Linked DNA regions of Homo sapiens: all the other regions are linked to region 1. The links are contacts of gene promoters, found by promoter capture Hi-C in blood cells and fetal thymus (Javierre and others, 2016). All regions are on one chromosome and are shown on one strand. The core of a region is centred on a gene start or on the middle of the fragment in contact, and the rest is flanking DNA. Distances in the headings are between cores, read along the strand shown. Region 1 holds the start of ACLY (ATP citrate lyase). Region 2 holds the start of TUBG1 (tubulin gamma 1). Region 3 holds the start of PSMC3IP (PSMC3 interacting protein). Region 4 holds the start of ATP6V0A1 (ATPase H+ transporting V0 subunit a1).

Region 1 (3,543 bases), core at 430-2,929:
TAACAGATGATTGGGCTGAGCTTGGACTCCAGGAACTGTTACTTGGTAACAGCTAAATGTGTAAACCATTTGGGGGAAATCATGCCAAGGAACCTGAAAACACACACATACACACATTCTCTAAGGGAGGGGCCTTATGAGCTGAATGGAGTCTTTCTGCAGACGGGTGAGTGACCCAGGATTGAGTTCACTTTTAGCAGACACTGAGAGAAGCAGCCCACACAGGAGGCTGAATGAAAGAAGCCTGTTCCCCAGAACACGCCCCTGGGACACAGCCAGGGGAAGGGAATCACTGGGGATGCTACTAAGGGTGCCTCTGGGAAAGACAAAAACACTCATTTGAAGGTTAGTATCTGCAGGATTGGGACTTACGTATGTAGGTATTTATTTATTTATTTTTTGAGAAGACAGGCAATCCCTGGAGTAAATTCTAGAGAGGCAGAATTCTGTGAGTGCCCCTTACTGCGGCAGGCATAGTGTCAGAACGGGGATGGAGCCATAAGCTGTCCAGTGTCTGAGGGGTCTTCCCACTACCGCCCCCCAAGCTGTTTAGGAAGGTTTCTAAGAGGTGAAAATCACCCATCTGGGCAAATGAGACCTACCAGCTGTCCCTCACCCCACATTTTAGTTCAGCTGAGCCAGCTGAAAACACAGAGGAAAGTTAAGGGTGGAGAGGAGTAGGCTAGCTGGCCAAACTGTGCTGTGCACTTTTCCTTATCGTCTCTTCCAAAATCCTCTTCCCAGGAAGACCTCCAGGGACCCCATAACGGCAGAACTCGGCACTGCACGGTATCTGCCAAGGTTGGAGACCGCGGCAGGCGCTGGGACTGGCCCATTGCCAGGCTCGACAGGAGGGCGGCGGCAGCATCCTCCAGCCCCTTGAGGACCTTTCCCCGGCCAGACTTGGCGTCAGCTCAAGGGTGGGGTGGCACCCCGGCCATCTGTCACTTAGGGGCTGGACTCGACGATACCTCCAGTGCGAGGAGGGTCCTTGCTGCGAGATTCCAGTCCTCGCGGCGAGACGAGGCGAGGCCTCGGGCACCCTGGGGCAGCCTGGCCCCGCGTGGCCCGCCCCGGAGGCGCGCATAGCTCATTCTCTCCACTTGGGCGTGGAGCTCAATTTTGTACCCACGGAACCAAGAAGGGCCTGAGCCCGGCCAGTGAGGAATCGGAGTGGGACCAGTCGCCACCGCTTTCTCTACTTCCCGTCCCGGCATCCGATGGGGGAACCCGGATGGAGCCAAAAGGCGTCCCGATGAGCCCGAGGAGCCTCGATAGCTGTGCCCGGGAGGGGTGAGGCGCGCCAGGAGGGGGACCATGCAATGTGGCAGAGGCAGAAGAGGCAAGGATGGCGGCAAGCCCCATGCAAACTCCCAGGAACTGGAATATGTGTGTGTCGCGCGGGGGGAGGGGAGGGGCGTCGACACGCGGCCACCGGCCGGGACCCCGGGCGAAGGCTAACCTAAAGCTAAGACCCTCAAAACTTCCGAGCAGGGCGCGTGGGCACCGAGCCCGCGTCGGGGAAGGCGGTTCCGGGTTGGGGGACGGAGGCAGGAAGCTCCTAGGGCGAGCGGGCTCCAGCCAGCGAAAACAGCCTCCCGTGCTCACCTCTGCCGAAGTCCGTGCGCGGCGCTTCTTCCACAGGCCCGACGAACCCCGCAAAATCCGGAGCACCCCAGCAGCCGGTAGCTTCCCGGGATCCGGCTTTTGTCCCGGCCCAGCCGGACTTTTCCCCGCCCCCATCGGCTCGCGGCGAGAACGGCCCCGCGATTGGCCACACGCGTTCCCTAGCCTGAGCGCCAGGGCTCCTCCCAATTCGCTGCTGGCTTGGCTCCGCCCCACGAGGGCGGGCCCCGGGGCCTGCTGGGACTTGTAGTCCCGCTGGCCCATCCACCGCCTCTTGGGAGCCTGCGGGGCCGGGGCGGGGCCCCGGGTGGGGAGATGGGCCGGGCTAGGCTGGGAGGAGAACGCGCGGTGCTGGGGGTTGTGGCCTGATCGCTTGAGGGGCTGGACAGATTGCCACTCGGGGAGTTGGGGGAGGGGCGGGTAGGATTAGCCCAACTGGCTGTAACGCAGCTTTGGGACCTGGAGTACCCTTGCTCCTTCCCTTGGGAGAAACGGACGTCTGCATCTCGGCCGCACCGAATCCGATTGCTTAGACAGTCTCCTTAAGCAGCAGTGTCTGGCAGGCCGCTTTCCTTTAGCACGTGGAGCCTCTCTCCTCCCTGGACTCTCCCCACTGGGCCGATGAGGCAAGGCTGAGCCGAGGCTAACAGAGCATACTTCCCAGTGTGGGATAAGGCAGGGGCCGCGGTAAGCAAGTGGGGCTAGGAGGGTGCAGGCACAGCGCTGTCCGTCCCACTCACCTGCTCGCCTCAGCACGGATCAGGGCGGAGCTAGGAATTCAATGCGAGATTCCAGCGAAGGGCTGGAGCCATCCCAGACAGTCTCTTGTTCCCACCAACCACAGGCTTAGACACTGGAATGAATGAACTGCTGTCTCCCCCTTCTCCATTACCTGAGACAGATCGAATTTTCCAAACCAAAAACTGGGACATCCAATCTGACAGGTGCTGGTGAACTTGTGGGGCAGAATATGTGAAATCAGTCCTGGAAATCAGGACATGTATTTACCACTCTGACATGCTGCAGCCTCCCTCCCTACCTGCACCCCAACCCTGTAGGTCCGGAGCTGCTCCCTAAGCCTAACAGCTGTCTAGCTCCAGGAAGGAGGCCAAAAGCGTCCACTGACCGACTCAGGTGAAGAGGTCAGCCCAGAATGCAGGGAAGCAGCAGGCCTGTCCCCCTGCCAAGCACTTTGGGTCATACTCACACTGCAACAGTGTTGCGACATTTGCAGACAAAATCTTCTCCAAGACCCCCTCCCCCAATCCTGTTGCTGCCAGGAGTAAGGTAACTGAACTTGCTACCCATGCCTGAATCAAGTGTTCCCTGATGATGTCACTTTCTGGTCCCTTCCCTCCCATTCATCTTTTTGAAATAGCAGTTCCTTATCACCTCTCTTCTCTTGTCCTAAAATGGGGGTGGCCAGTCTTGGTGGCTCACACCTGTAATCCCAGCACTTTGGAAGGCCAAGGTGGGGGATCACTTGAGGTCAGGAGTTCAAGACCAACAAGGCAAAACCCCATCTCTACAAAAAATACAAAAATTAGCCAGGCATGGTGGCACACGCCTATAAATCCCAGCTACTCTTGAGGTTGAGGCATGAGAATCGCTTAAACCCGGGAGGTGGAGGTTGCAGTGAGGTGAGATTGCACCACTGCACTCCAACCTGGGTGACAGAGAAGGATTCTATCTCAAAAAAAAAAAAAAAAAAAAAAAGATACACTCCAGGCAAGGCATGCTGTCTCATGCCTGTAATCCCAGAATTTTGGAAGGCCAAGTCAGGCAGATTGCTAGAGCCCAGAAGTTCAAGTACAGCCTGGGTAACATGGTAAGAGCCCCCACCACCACCATCAAATCTCTACAAAAAATAAAAAGACCGGGCGTGGTGATTCACATGCCTGTAATCCCAGCAATTTG
Region 2 (3,543 bases), core at 618-3,117, 690 kb after region 1:
AAAAAGGGAAAAAGCACTACCAAAAATAAATGAAGAACGTGGTAGGAAAAGTTTACCATCGAGTTTGCTAAAGGCTCTGGAAGCCACAAATGCCAGAGACTACTGTGACACCTTTAACTGGGTCTCTTTCAAACTGGGAGAGGATTAGCTTAATAGCTGAACACTGTTTTCGGGTCAATGAACTTGGAATTATTTGTTCTGCTTCAGCTCACTGAAAATCTTTCAGATAAAGGATAATAAATGTTTTGATTTTAAAACAAATTTTAAGGGGAAAGCTATTTTTAGCAAAAACACAATTAAAAAACACACATATTTTGTTGTTTCAGGCTTATCCAGAATAGTCTTAATCCATTCAGCAGCAGAAAGCCCCCTATAAGTCAGTTCCCTTGGAACCTCCTCCATTACAAATAAATCCAAAATTATGGTTGGTAGATCCTATGAAGTCCTAGGTCCACTTCAGGTGATGACAACTGAGAGAAGCAGCAGTTCCATTTTCACAGAGCATGACACACACAAATAAAGCATATTTACAGTGCTACTTTTCCAGCTCAGGAAAACTCACACACAGTATTAGACATCAATTTCCTTGCCTATAAACCATGGCTAAGGATGCCTCTCTAATTCCTTGGAACAGGGAGGAGTTACAATCACAGGTGGCTTTGACACGCGTGTAATCTCCGTCATCATTTCCTAACTGTTCTTTAAAAGCTTGTAATTTTCTTTCAATTTTCAGCTTTGGGGGCTCACACTGACGCTTAGACTTCATAAACTTCCTTCCTAGATATATAACATGCTAATTCATGCGAATCGCTCAAGCTTGTTTTATAATCACACCTATGGATACCTTTGCAAGACTTCACGCCTCTACTCCAACAATAAACTACTAAAACCTCTGGAAACAATCTAGAACTTGCACTTGAGCAGACAAGAGAAAGGAAGTGATGGCTTTAAAGGGACGCAGCTTTGTCGGGCTCAAAAGAGGAGCCCTCGCTCACTCTTGAGCGGCTCAAGATGTTACCAGAAGCTCCCGCCAGATGTGCGGGGCGGGGGTGCGGGCACAGGTAAGGCAGAGAAGATGGGTGGACGGCCCTGGGAAGAACTAGGGTGCCGAAGCCTGCAGGCGGGATGGAGTGGAAGGAGGTGAGGCAAAATTAGGCAAGTACAGGAAGGAGCCAGTGCAGCGAAGAAAACAGGGCAGGCGAGAAGTAGAGCCCTAGAGGAACCAACGAATTCGGGACTCGGAGGGTTTCCGAGGGTCCAGTTCTCTCACCAGAAAGCCGCGTTCAGCCCCAGGCACCACAGAGCGCTCCTAGCTGGCCGCTCCCACACCAGGGCTGCCTGCACCCGACTCAGCAGAGGCTCGTAAGGCCCCAGCACCTCCACCAGGGCCCGCTGCGCCGCCTCAACCTGCTGGTCCCGCTCCCAGGAGCCTGACACATCTCGGCGGCCCCTGAAAGTCGACCCCGAAGCCGGGCCTGGGGTCGTGGGAACCCCTTCGGCCTCAGCCATCTCCCCGCGGCAGCCACAACATCCGGGGCCGTGGCCCGACAAGTCACAATAACAGCAACTGCGCAGATGCGCGATTCGGCGGGGGAGGTGGCTTCGCACCACAGCGCGCTTGCGCGCAGGCCCAAGCAGGCGCCCACCCAGAGGGGAGGGAGGACGCCGTACCCCGCCCTCACTGAGGCGCGGAGCCGGATCCGGAGGCGCCGAGCCGCATCCGGAGCCGCGCACGCGCAATCTGCATGAACGAAGGCCAGTGCTTAAAGACGTGCCATTCATTGCCAGAACTCGATTCTCATTGGAGCGGAGGAAGTTCGTGGGTGGAGCTGGTTGTTTGGCGCCTGCGTCTTGCGGCGAGCGGGCTGGCGTGCGGCGCCGTTGCGGGCGGGAGCGGCTGCAACGCCGGTGCCTGAGGAGCGATGCCGAGGGAAATCATCACCCTACAGTTGGGCCAGTGCGGCAATCAGAGTGAGCGAAACTCCGGCCCCTCAGCTAGCCAGGTTCCTTAGGGTCAATGGGATCTCGCTGTGGGATCCTGGACTCCATCTGTCCTTGCCAGAATCGTAGTTCTCTGAAAGGCGAGACATCCCTGACCCAGTGTCCACTTGCCCAACCCCGAGGGGCCCTCCCCTGCCCAGTCCCTGGCGTACAGTCCTTTCCTCAGACACGGGAGAGTCCTGCGGCTTGACTTCTTATCCCTGGACGCAGGCGCCCAGTCCCCCGGCTCCTGATTGGAACCTGCCCGGACCTAGATATCTTCTTTCTCCCCTGCCCGCCCCTTCCCCCCAGTTGGGTTCGAGTTCTGGAAACAGCTGTGCGCCGAGCATGGTATCAGCCCCGAGGGCATCGTGGAGGAGTTCGCCACCGAGGGCACTGACCGCAAGGACGTCTTTTTCTACCAGGTGCCCCCAGCGACTTGGCCGGGGGCGGCAGTTGCCCAAGGGGGCGGAAGGGAAGGGAGTGGCCTGGTACTGGGAACCCCGCTGGGCAGTAGGGCCAGGCGGCTGGCTTGAGGAGGGAGGGCCGGAGGGAGCCAGAGTTGGGAGGACTTCGGACTTGGGCCGCCCTAGCTGATTGGGCCCCCTCCTGGACTCCCCTTGACAGGCAGACGATGAGCACTACATCCCCCGGGCCGTGCTGCTGGACTTGGAACCCCGGGTGATCCACTCCATCCTCAACTCCCCCTATGCCAAGCTCTACAACCCAGAGAACATCTACCTGTCGGAACATGGAGGAGGAGCTGGCAACAACTGGGCCAGCGGATTCTCCCAGGTCGTTTCCTATTCCCTGGCAGGGCCCACAACTCGCTGGGTAGGGACAGGCTCTATGACGTCCCGAAGAGAGGGAAAACCGGATCAGGGATGTATGAATGCTGGAGGGAGAGACCTGGCTGCAGGGAGTGGACTATGTAATATTGTCAAGCGCCTACACTAGCTAATGCAGTGTGCCAGGTCATTCTAAGTGCTTTACATATATTAATTTTTCTAAATCTCCCAACAACCCTAGAAGTAAGTACTACAGGTCCACAGTCCCTTATCTGCCTTTCCAGGATCCAGAAAGCCATGAAACCAAAGGACATTTCATAACTAGTTTATCAGCAAAAACAAATTTCAATGAAGACAGGCTGTTTTATAGTTTCTTTTTTTTAATTTTTATTTATTTATTTTTTTTGAGACGGAGTCTCACTCTGTCGCCCAGGCTGGAGTGCAGTGGCACGCTCTCAGCTCACTGCAACCTCTGCTGCCCGGGTTCAAGCGATTCTCCTGCCTCAGCCTCCCGAGTAGCTGGGATTACAGGTGCTTGCCATCACGCCTGGCTAATTTTTGTATTTTTAGTAGAGACGGGGTTTTACTGTGTTAGCCAGGGTGGTCTTGATCTCCTGACCTCGTGATCCACCTGCCTCGGCCTCCCAAAGTGCTGGGATTGCAGGCGTGAACCGCCATGCCCGGCCCTATAGTTTCTATCCAACTTACTGTCATTAGTGATGCCTTTTATTACAGAAATACTAATATATTTGATTAACGTGCTTCTGATTAAATA
Region 3 (3,543 bases), core at 562-3,061, 660 kb after region 1:
GGCTGAGGCGGGGGAATGGCGTGAACCCAGGAGGTGGAGCTTATAGTGAGCCGAGATTGTGCCACTGCACTCCAGCCTGGGTGACAGAGCGAGACTCCGTCTCAACAACAACAACAACAACAATAACAAAAAGAGATAAGGGCCTGAAAAAGAAACAATTAGCTCGGAGCATTCAAGGAAGATTTCTGGAAAAGGTGATGTCTAAGTGAAATCCTCAAGGAAAGAAAGAGCTGGCCAGGAAGAGAAGCAGGTACAGGGAAGACAACATGCAAAGGACAGAGCAGTAAAACACACCAGAATTATCTAGTGTTCGTGGATAGAAAAATAATGAGGATTGGTGAGGCCAGAGGCTGGCTGGGGCGTCTTCCGGTGCCTTTTACATGTTTTTTGCAGCACTAGAGAGCCATTGAAGAGTTTTAAATAGGGAAGGTGCATGACCAGATCTATTTAGACAGATCATTCTGACTGCAATGTTTAAGAGTTTAAGATATGTTTGAAGAGCCAAGATCTGTTAGGAGGATACTGCAACAAATAAAGAGGGCGTGAACTAGAGCAACCATGGCAGATGGAAAGGAGAGTGGATTCAAGAATGGAAAAATTAGCCAGGCTCTGTGGTTCACGCCTGTCCTCCCAGCACTTTGGGAGGCCAAGACAGGAGGATCACTTGAGCCCAGGAGTTGGGACCAACCTGGGCAGCACAGTAAGACCCATCTCTATAAAAATTAAAAAAATAAATAAAAACGGAAAAATCAGCTGGACTTGATGGTTGACTAGTAAAGGAAGTCAAGAATTGCTCCCAATTTCTGGTTTGGGTGAAGAGTAATTCCATTAGGGGAGGAGAATGTTAGAAAGAAACCAGTCCGGGGTGGGGGGAAGATGAGGCATTCTACTGTGGCAATTTTGACTCTGATATTAATGCCTGACAGATTCCAGCTGGAGGTCTGGGCTGGAGAATATAAATTTGATATGTGTGTTTAGAGAATCGGATGGAGGCAGGAGGAACATCATTTGGCAGAGGGTGTTGCTAATGTAGATGATAAGGAATAAGAGCTTTGGAGCGGAAATGGATCTTGGTAGCAACAATACAGAATCTTCTGTCATCCATCATATTGTAAATCTGGAAACCTCGTGAAGTTGGGATCCTAACAAGAGGAGTACACACCTTGATTTAAGGATGGTGGCCTAAGACAGGTGAGTTTTCCATGGGGGGCCTTGTCCCCAAAGAGTTCACACCAGGAGTAGATTCACCCGTTGTCGGGCTCTCATGGGTGACAATCGGCGCAAGTTCTCCTCACCTGATCCGCAAAATAGATCTTCTGCTTGCCGTACATCTTCTCTTTGATCTTGCCTTGTTGCGCCAGCTGCTCCAGCGTCTTCACCACCACCTGGCAGAGGAGAGAGAAGGAGCAATCAGAGGAGTCTGAGCCTGGGTCTGGGGAAATCCAGCCAGTGATGTGGAAAACGCCCAAGGCTCCAAAGGGCACGACCCCAGCCTGAATCCAGGGAGTCCGACGGAGAGGGAATCCCGGGAGAAGGTCCTCACCGCCTTGCCCAGTCCGTGTTCCCGCTGTAGGTTCCCGAACACATCCTGGGAGCTGTAGGGCCGGTTCTGCTCCTGCAGGTACCTCAGGAGGATCCCGGCGGCTACGGAGAGAAAGGCAGGGGAGGGGGCCACTCAACCGACCTCCTCACCCACTGCCCTCCCGGGTCTTCCCCGCGCCCACGGCGCCGTTACCTCCCGCCGCAGCTTCTGCCCGGCCTTTACTCATCGCCTTTCCCGCCACCCAACTCAGAAAGCCGGACGTTGTAGTTGCTCGGGGCGACGGCTCCTTCCGGCGACGGGGGCGGGCCTCGAACGGTGATTGGCTGAAGGGGAAGCCTTCCGGAGGAGCAAAGCGACCCCTCCCGGACTCCATAGTTCATTTCAGGTCGGAACTTGCGCATTCGGGCCGGACCTCAAGCCATGGGCCTCTGCGAAGGCGCCGGCGTGCCCACGGCTAAGAAACTTCCTCTTTCTGCTCCCGGGAACGAAGGCTGTAGCAGAGAAGGCCTTCAAGTTTCGAGACCCAGTTCCAGCCGCAGCTGAGCACTGGTGACCTTGAATTAAGTCTAATGTTGGGATTGGAAGACGCTTCAGACATCCGCTGCCGCCCTGGGCAAGCGACCAGCTCAAGGTTACCCCACAGGGACGTGCTCTGGTCCCACGGTCCAGTGCTCTTTTGTCGGTTAGTTTTGTCATTTGTAAAATAGGAACAGTAGATAGTGGTAGGAAAGTGGTTGTGAAAACTTAATAGAAAGCTAAGCGCCTTGGTCGGGCGCAGTGGCATGTCACCCCTGCAATTCTATCACTTTGGGAGGCTGAGGCGGGCGGATCGTTTGAGCCCAGGAATTCGAAACCAGTCTGGGCAATATGAAACCCCATCTCTGCAAATAAAGTACAAAAAATTAAGAGTGGTGGCGCGCTTCTGTGGTCCCAGCTACTCTGGAGGCTGAGGTGGGAGGGTCACCAGAGCCCCGGACATCGAGGCTGCAGTGAGCCACTATGAGCGCGCCACTGCACCCCATCCTGGCGACAGAGCGAGACGCAGTCTCGAACAAAAAAAAAAAAAGTGGGAAGGGGGGACAGCTAAGCGCCTTGGAGAGCAACCACCCTTATTTGCCTAATACCGAGCTTCGCACCCAGGGGGCACTCGACACCTACTGTAGTTTGGACGCCAAGGAACGATAGGGTTAGGAGGGGGCTACTGTTCAACCACAAAGCTTGTGGAAAAGTTTGTTAGCCCAGACAATCTCAGGGCAACACCTGGCAGGTGCTTTCCACCCCTGACCACAGTGGCCAATGGGACAGAGCCTGAAATAAATATTTCTAGTTTCTGAGGTGAGCTGAAGGCCAAAGAGCAGCTGTCCCTGCAGCTCAGACCATCCAGTGAAGGAGTAAGGTGCTACTTTTTAAAGCCTTCTGCTACCTACAACCTCCTTAGCCTTTAAAACGTGTGCTTGTCTCTGCACGTTTAGGAGACAATATTAAGAATTAGAAATGAAAGGGCCGAGCGCGGTGGCTCACGCCTGCAATCCCAGCACTTTGGGAGGCCAGGGCGGGCGGATCACGAGGTCAGGAGATCGAGACCATCCTGGCTAACACTGTGAAACCCCATCTCTACTAAAAATACAAAAAATTAGCCAGGCGTGCTGGTGGGCGCCTGTAGTCCAAGCTACTCAGGAGGCTGAGGCAGGAGAATGGCGTGAACCCGGGAGGCGGAGCTTGCAGTGAGAGATCGCACCACTGCACTCCAGCCTGGGCGACAGACCAAGACTCCGTCTCAGGAAAAAAAAAGAAATTAGAAATGAAGGAAATACAGGCTAAATACTAGCCAAGAGTGCCAGTTATACTGATGGTGGGGCTCTCACAAGAAGGAAAGTAGCCTCATACTATGGTGATGTTCTGGCCATCACGAAGTAAAAATAGGGGTGGGCTGGTGGGTCCCTCATACCTGGGCTTCCTCTTTTAAGGCTATCACTTCAAATTAATCAGAACTCAGATTT
Region 4 (3,543 bases), core at 512-3,011, 540 kb after region 1:
TCCAAGACTCTGTGTCTTAAGAAGGTTGTATTGAAGTCAGGTTATATCTTCACTCACAATATGAGACAATAAATTCAAATAAAACGTCCATTTTTGTCCCCTTATTTTGTTTAGGCTGGTAAAGCAGGTTTGATGATGTTTTTGTCAGGTTGACAAAATTATCAGCAACAAGTTTTTATCTGGAATATCTCCCTCATTACACTTGAATTTCAACAGGGTTCCACCACCCAGGAAGACAGAATAACCGGTTTTCTGAGTTTTTCCTGATACAATTCTGGTTATCACAAACGACTTGAGATCCCTACTCTTCTTTAAAAGGGCAAGAAAAGGGAATCAATATCAATATTTGATAATGGCATTTAAAAAATAATAGACATCACTTTTGCGTTTAAAAAATGTTTTTCAATATTTAATTTACAAGTTGAGTACAAGCCATAAAAAATGTTTTTAAAATAAATTTGAGGAATTGAAAACTCCTAAGTGGTCAATTGAGCCCACATGAATCTACCAAACAAGACTGAAATGTACTTTCACAACATATGGTCTGATGAGGTTTTTCCTGTTAAACAGAGAAAAATAGACCCGGGGAAGTTGCTGGAAGGCATGAACCATGTACCATTTAAAGAGAGGTTTTCCATACTTATGCAAATGAGACCCCGTTAAAGACTCTACTACAGGATCTAAAGCTAGCCGCTCCCCAGTCTGGGGCTCAAATGTTCTCATCTGTAAAATAAGGGAAAAGAGAAAGGGTGGTATATGTGTCTGCGTATTAATTATTTGAGTGTGTGTGTGAATTCTTTGGATATGAAAATAAAGAGAGAAGACATTAATTATTTGGGTGCGTATGTGTGAATTAATTCTTTGGATATGAAAATAAAGAGAGGGCCGGGCGCGGTGGCTCACACCTGTAATCCCAGCACTTTGGGAGGCCGAGGCGGGTGGAGGCCAGGACCAGTCTGGGCAACATGGCGAAACCCCATCTCTACAAAAAATACAAAAATAGCCGGGTGGCGTGGTGCGTGCCTGTAATCTCAGCTACTAGGGAGGCTGAGGCAGGAGAATCCCCTGAACCCGGGAGGCGGAGGCTGCAGTGAGCCGAGAACGCGCCACTGCATTCCCGCCTGGGAAACAGACCATCTAAAAAAAAAAAAAAAAAAAAAAAAAAAAGGCCGGGCGTGGTGGCTCACGCTTGTAATCCCAACACTTTGGGAGGCCGAGGCGGGTGGATCACGAGGTCAGAATTCGAGACTCAGCCTGGCCAACATAGTGAAACCCCGTCTCTACTTAAAAAAAAAAAAAATACAAAAATTAGCCGGGCATGGTGGTGCGTGCCTGTAGTCCCAGCTACTTGGGAGGCTGAGGCAGGAGAATCGCTTGAACCCGGGAGGTGGAGGTTGCAGTGGGCCGAGATCACGCCACTGCACTCCTGCTTGAGCAACAGAATGAGACTTCAAAAAAAAAAAAAGAAAGAGAAAAGACAACCTACCCCAGTATAAGGGGTAAGAAAAAGGATTCAGGGAGGCTCAGGAACTTAAGGCCTCGAGCACCTGCACCTCCAGCCCCACCCGCTAACCCTCCCCAGCGTGGAGATACAGCACAGGGGCCAACATGGCGTCAGCACGCTGGGTCTCGCCTGCGACCCCCGTGACTCCGCACTGCTGCAGCCCGGGCGAGGCTGCGCCCCATTGGCCAACTGCAATGAGGTCATTGCGGGGGCGGGGGCCGGCGGCGGCGCAGGGGCGGGGCTTTACGGACGCAAGCACGTCGAAGCGCTGCTCCTGGAGCCGCGGAGGGTGCGGGTTTGGCTGCGGTGGTTTCTGTGGCGGTTGCTGTGGCGGAGTTTGGAGGTGAGTGGGGGCTGTAGGTTTAGCGCAACAGGGAGCGGCCCTCGATGGACGTAGGAAATCCTTCTAAGAGCCCCCTTGATTGTCAGAGGAATTAGCGGGGATCTGACGTCTTCGAGATAAAATGGGGGTTCGCCCCCTCCTTGGGCACCCCTCCTCTGCCCTGAGGAACCGGAGGCTCACTGCCCTTTGGAAGCCCCGCATCTCTTCCCTGCTTTAAGGGGTAGGCGGAGGAACCGGAGGTTATTGGATAGGCAGAAGAATTTAGGGGGCTTCTTAAAGGGTTTCTCAGTTTGGGGGTTTTCCTCTCCTTTTTTCCCATCTCAAGGTAGATGAGCCTGAGTCCAGAGAATTCCTGCTCATTGGGTAGACAGGAAATGAAGCAGGTGAATACCGTGGGAGGAGGCGAGGACCGGATGACAGGAGTGAGATTCTTCTAGGCAGGGCGCGGGGGCGCTGTAGTTGGACTCATCTTTTGCAGAATTGCTGTTTCTTCATATTTTGTTTTGTGATCGTCCAGAACTACTTTGGCCTAATTAGTTTTCTGTTAGCCTCCATTGCTATAGAGATATTCTTGGGAGACCTATAATCATTAAAGAGCAGGAGGACGGAGGCGACTCGTTGGAGGCTTATCATTATCCACAGCTCCTGAACTATGCTGACCAGGCCTAATTTTATGTGTTTAGAGGTTGTAGAATCTCTCTTTGTTTAAGGGTGGTGCCGGTAACAGCTGATTTGGATGATTCAGATGTACAGAATCTTAAAGTCAGCCTGCATATTCTCTTGAGAAGTCCTTGCTTATGTCTGAGCTTGTGTTACTGTCTTGAACATCACATGCACAAAGGTTTGTTCGTTCAGATTTCTCAAAATGTCTCCCAGCCTTCCAGAAGAGTAAATCTTCCTTTGATGTCAGACTCATCTATCAGTACTCAGTATAGATGCCCTTATGACACTAAAAATACTGTGCATTTTTCTGAGTTTGGATACTGGACAGGCTGTGCCTTACATTAGCTGATCGAGAATAAATAATTGCAGTTTCAGGACCACTGATAGCGCCAGTTGTCTCATACCCGGCAACAGTAAGACAGCACTAAAACGAAACCTTTATTGGCTCATGAGATTTGACAGATGGAAGAATGTAATTAATCTTGAAGGTAGGGTTGAGAAACAGAAAGCTGCAGAGGTGGAAGGCTTATTCTCTGTGGCTTGATAAAACTGCTTTGTCATTATCAGTGTGTTCCTGTCATGCTTGATTTGAAATTGAGCTTAATATGCAAACTGGTTGCTTTTTCCAGATGACGGTTATTTGTTTGAATTCCTAAGTGGGGAAATATTGTTTTCTGAGGAATCTGGAAGATTAAACCCTTTAGTGTAGCCATAGCTTTAGGATAGTGCCAGAACTTTGGGCTTTTAGAAATGCGCATTGTCAGTAGAAGGGAGAAGGATAGTTACAAGGCAGACATCTTTATGAGAGGGTATTGAAGGCCTCTTCTGTTTGTTTCCTGCACTAGCAAAAACAGATTGAGCAGTGTGAAACTCACTGCCTCAATATTGTGTCCTGGGTATTTAAAGAGTTGTTTGAGGTTCCCAGTTCCTGTCTTTAATCTGGATACATTCTTATCAGTTGAGTTGCCCAAAATAATTGTCATTTGATCCTGATGTTGACTGGAATGGAAGTGACTTTTCATCTGACACTCTG

The links. The method cuts DNA at HindIII sites, captures the fragments that hold promoters and counts their contacts. A CHiCAGO score of 5 or more calls a contact.
Region 2: the fragment with the promoter of TUBG1 here is called in contact with the fragment with the promoter of ACLY in region 1 in 1 of 17 cell types (fetal thymus); the score reaches 5.0 in fetal thymus.
Region 3: the fragment with the promoter of PSMC3IP here is called in contact with the fragment with the promoter of ACLY in region 1 in 2 of 17 cell types (fetal thymus and erythroblasts); the score reaches 6.6 in fetal thymus.
Region 4: the fragment with the promoter of ATP6V0A1 here is called in contact with the fragment with the promoter of ACLY in region 1 in 2 of 17 cell types (erythroblasts and M0 macrophages); the score reaches 13.6 in erythroblasts.

What each region holds. Positions count from the first base shown.
Region 1 is chr17:41,917,272-41,920,814 of GRCh38, forward strand. It overlaps ACLY (ATP citrate lyase), which reads right to left and starts at 1,680. Exons shown (of 29, transcript NM_001096.3): 1 at 1,609-1,680. RefSeq lists silencers at 1,083-1,322, 1,803-2,062. The HindIII fragment of the contact is 30,796 bases long and covers 1-3,543 here.
Region 2 is chr17:42,607,816-42,611,358 of GRCh38, forward strand. It overlaps TUBG1 (tubulin gamma 1), which reads left to right and starts at 1,868. Exons shown (of 11, transcript NM_001070.5): 1 at 1,868-1,971; 2 at 2,293-2,405; 3 at 2,608-2,775. The coding sequence starts at 1,923. RETREG3 (reticulophagy regulator family member 3) reads right to left here and starts at 1,559. Exons shown (of 9, transcript NM_178126.4): 1 at 1,271-1,559. The coding sequence starts at 1,509. RefSeq lists an enhancer at 1,441-1,550. The HindIII fragment of the contact is 4,939 bases long and covers 815-3,543 here.
Region 3 is chr17:42,575,918-42,579,460 of GRCh38, forward strand. It overlaps PSMC3IP (PSMC3 interacting protein), which reads right to left and starts at 1,812. Exons shown (of 8, transcript NM_016556.4): 1 at 1,736-1,812; 2 at 1,544-1,644; 3 at 1,296-1,385. The coding sequence starts at 1,769. RefSeq lists a silencer at 1,724-1,773 and an enhancer at 2,074-2,163. The HindIII fragment of the contact is 6,888 bases long and covers 1-2,758 here.
Region 4 is chr17:42,457,117-42,460,659 of GRCh38, forward strand. It overlaps ATP6V0A1 (ATPase H+ transporting V0 subunit a1), which reads left to right and starts at 1,762. Exons shown (of 22, transcript NM_001130021.3): 1 at 1,762-1,847. RefSeq lists an enhancer at 1,382-1,471 and a silencer at 1,622-1,831. The HindIII fragment of the contact is 8,228 bases long and covers 1-3,543 here.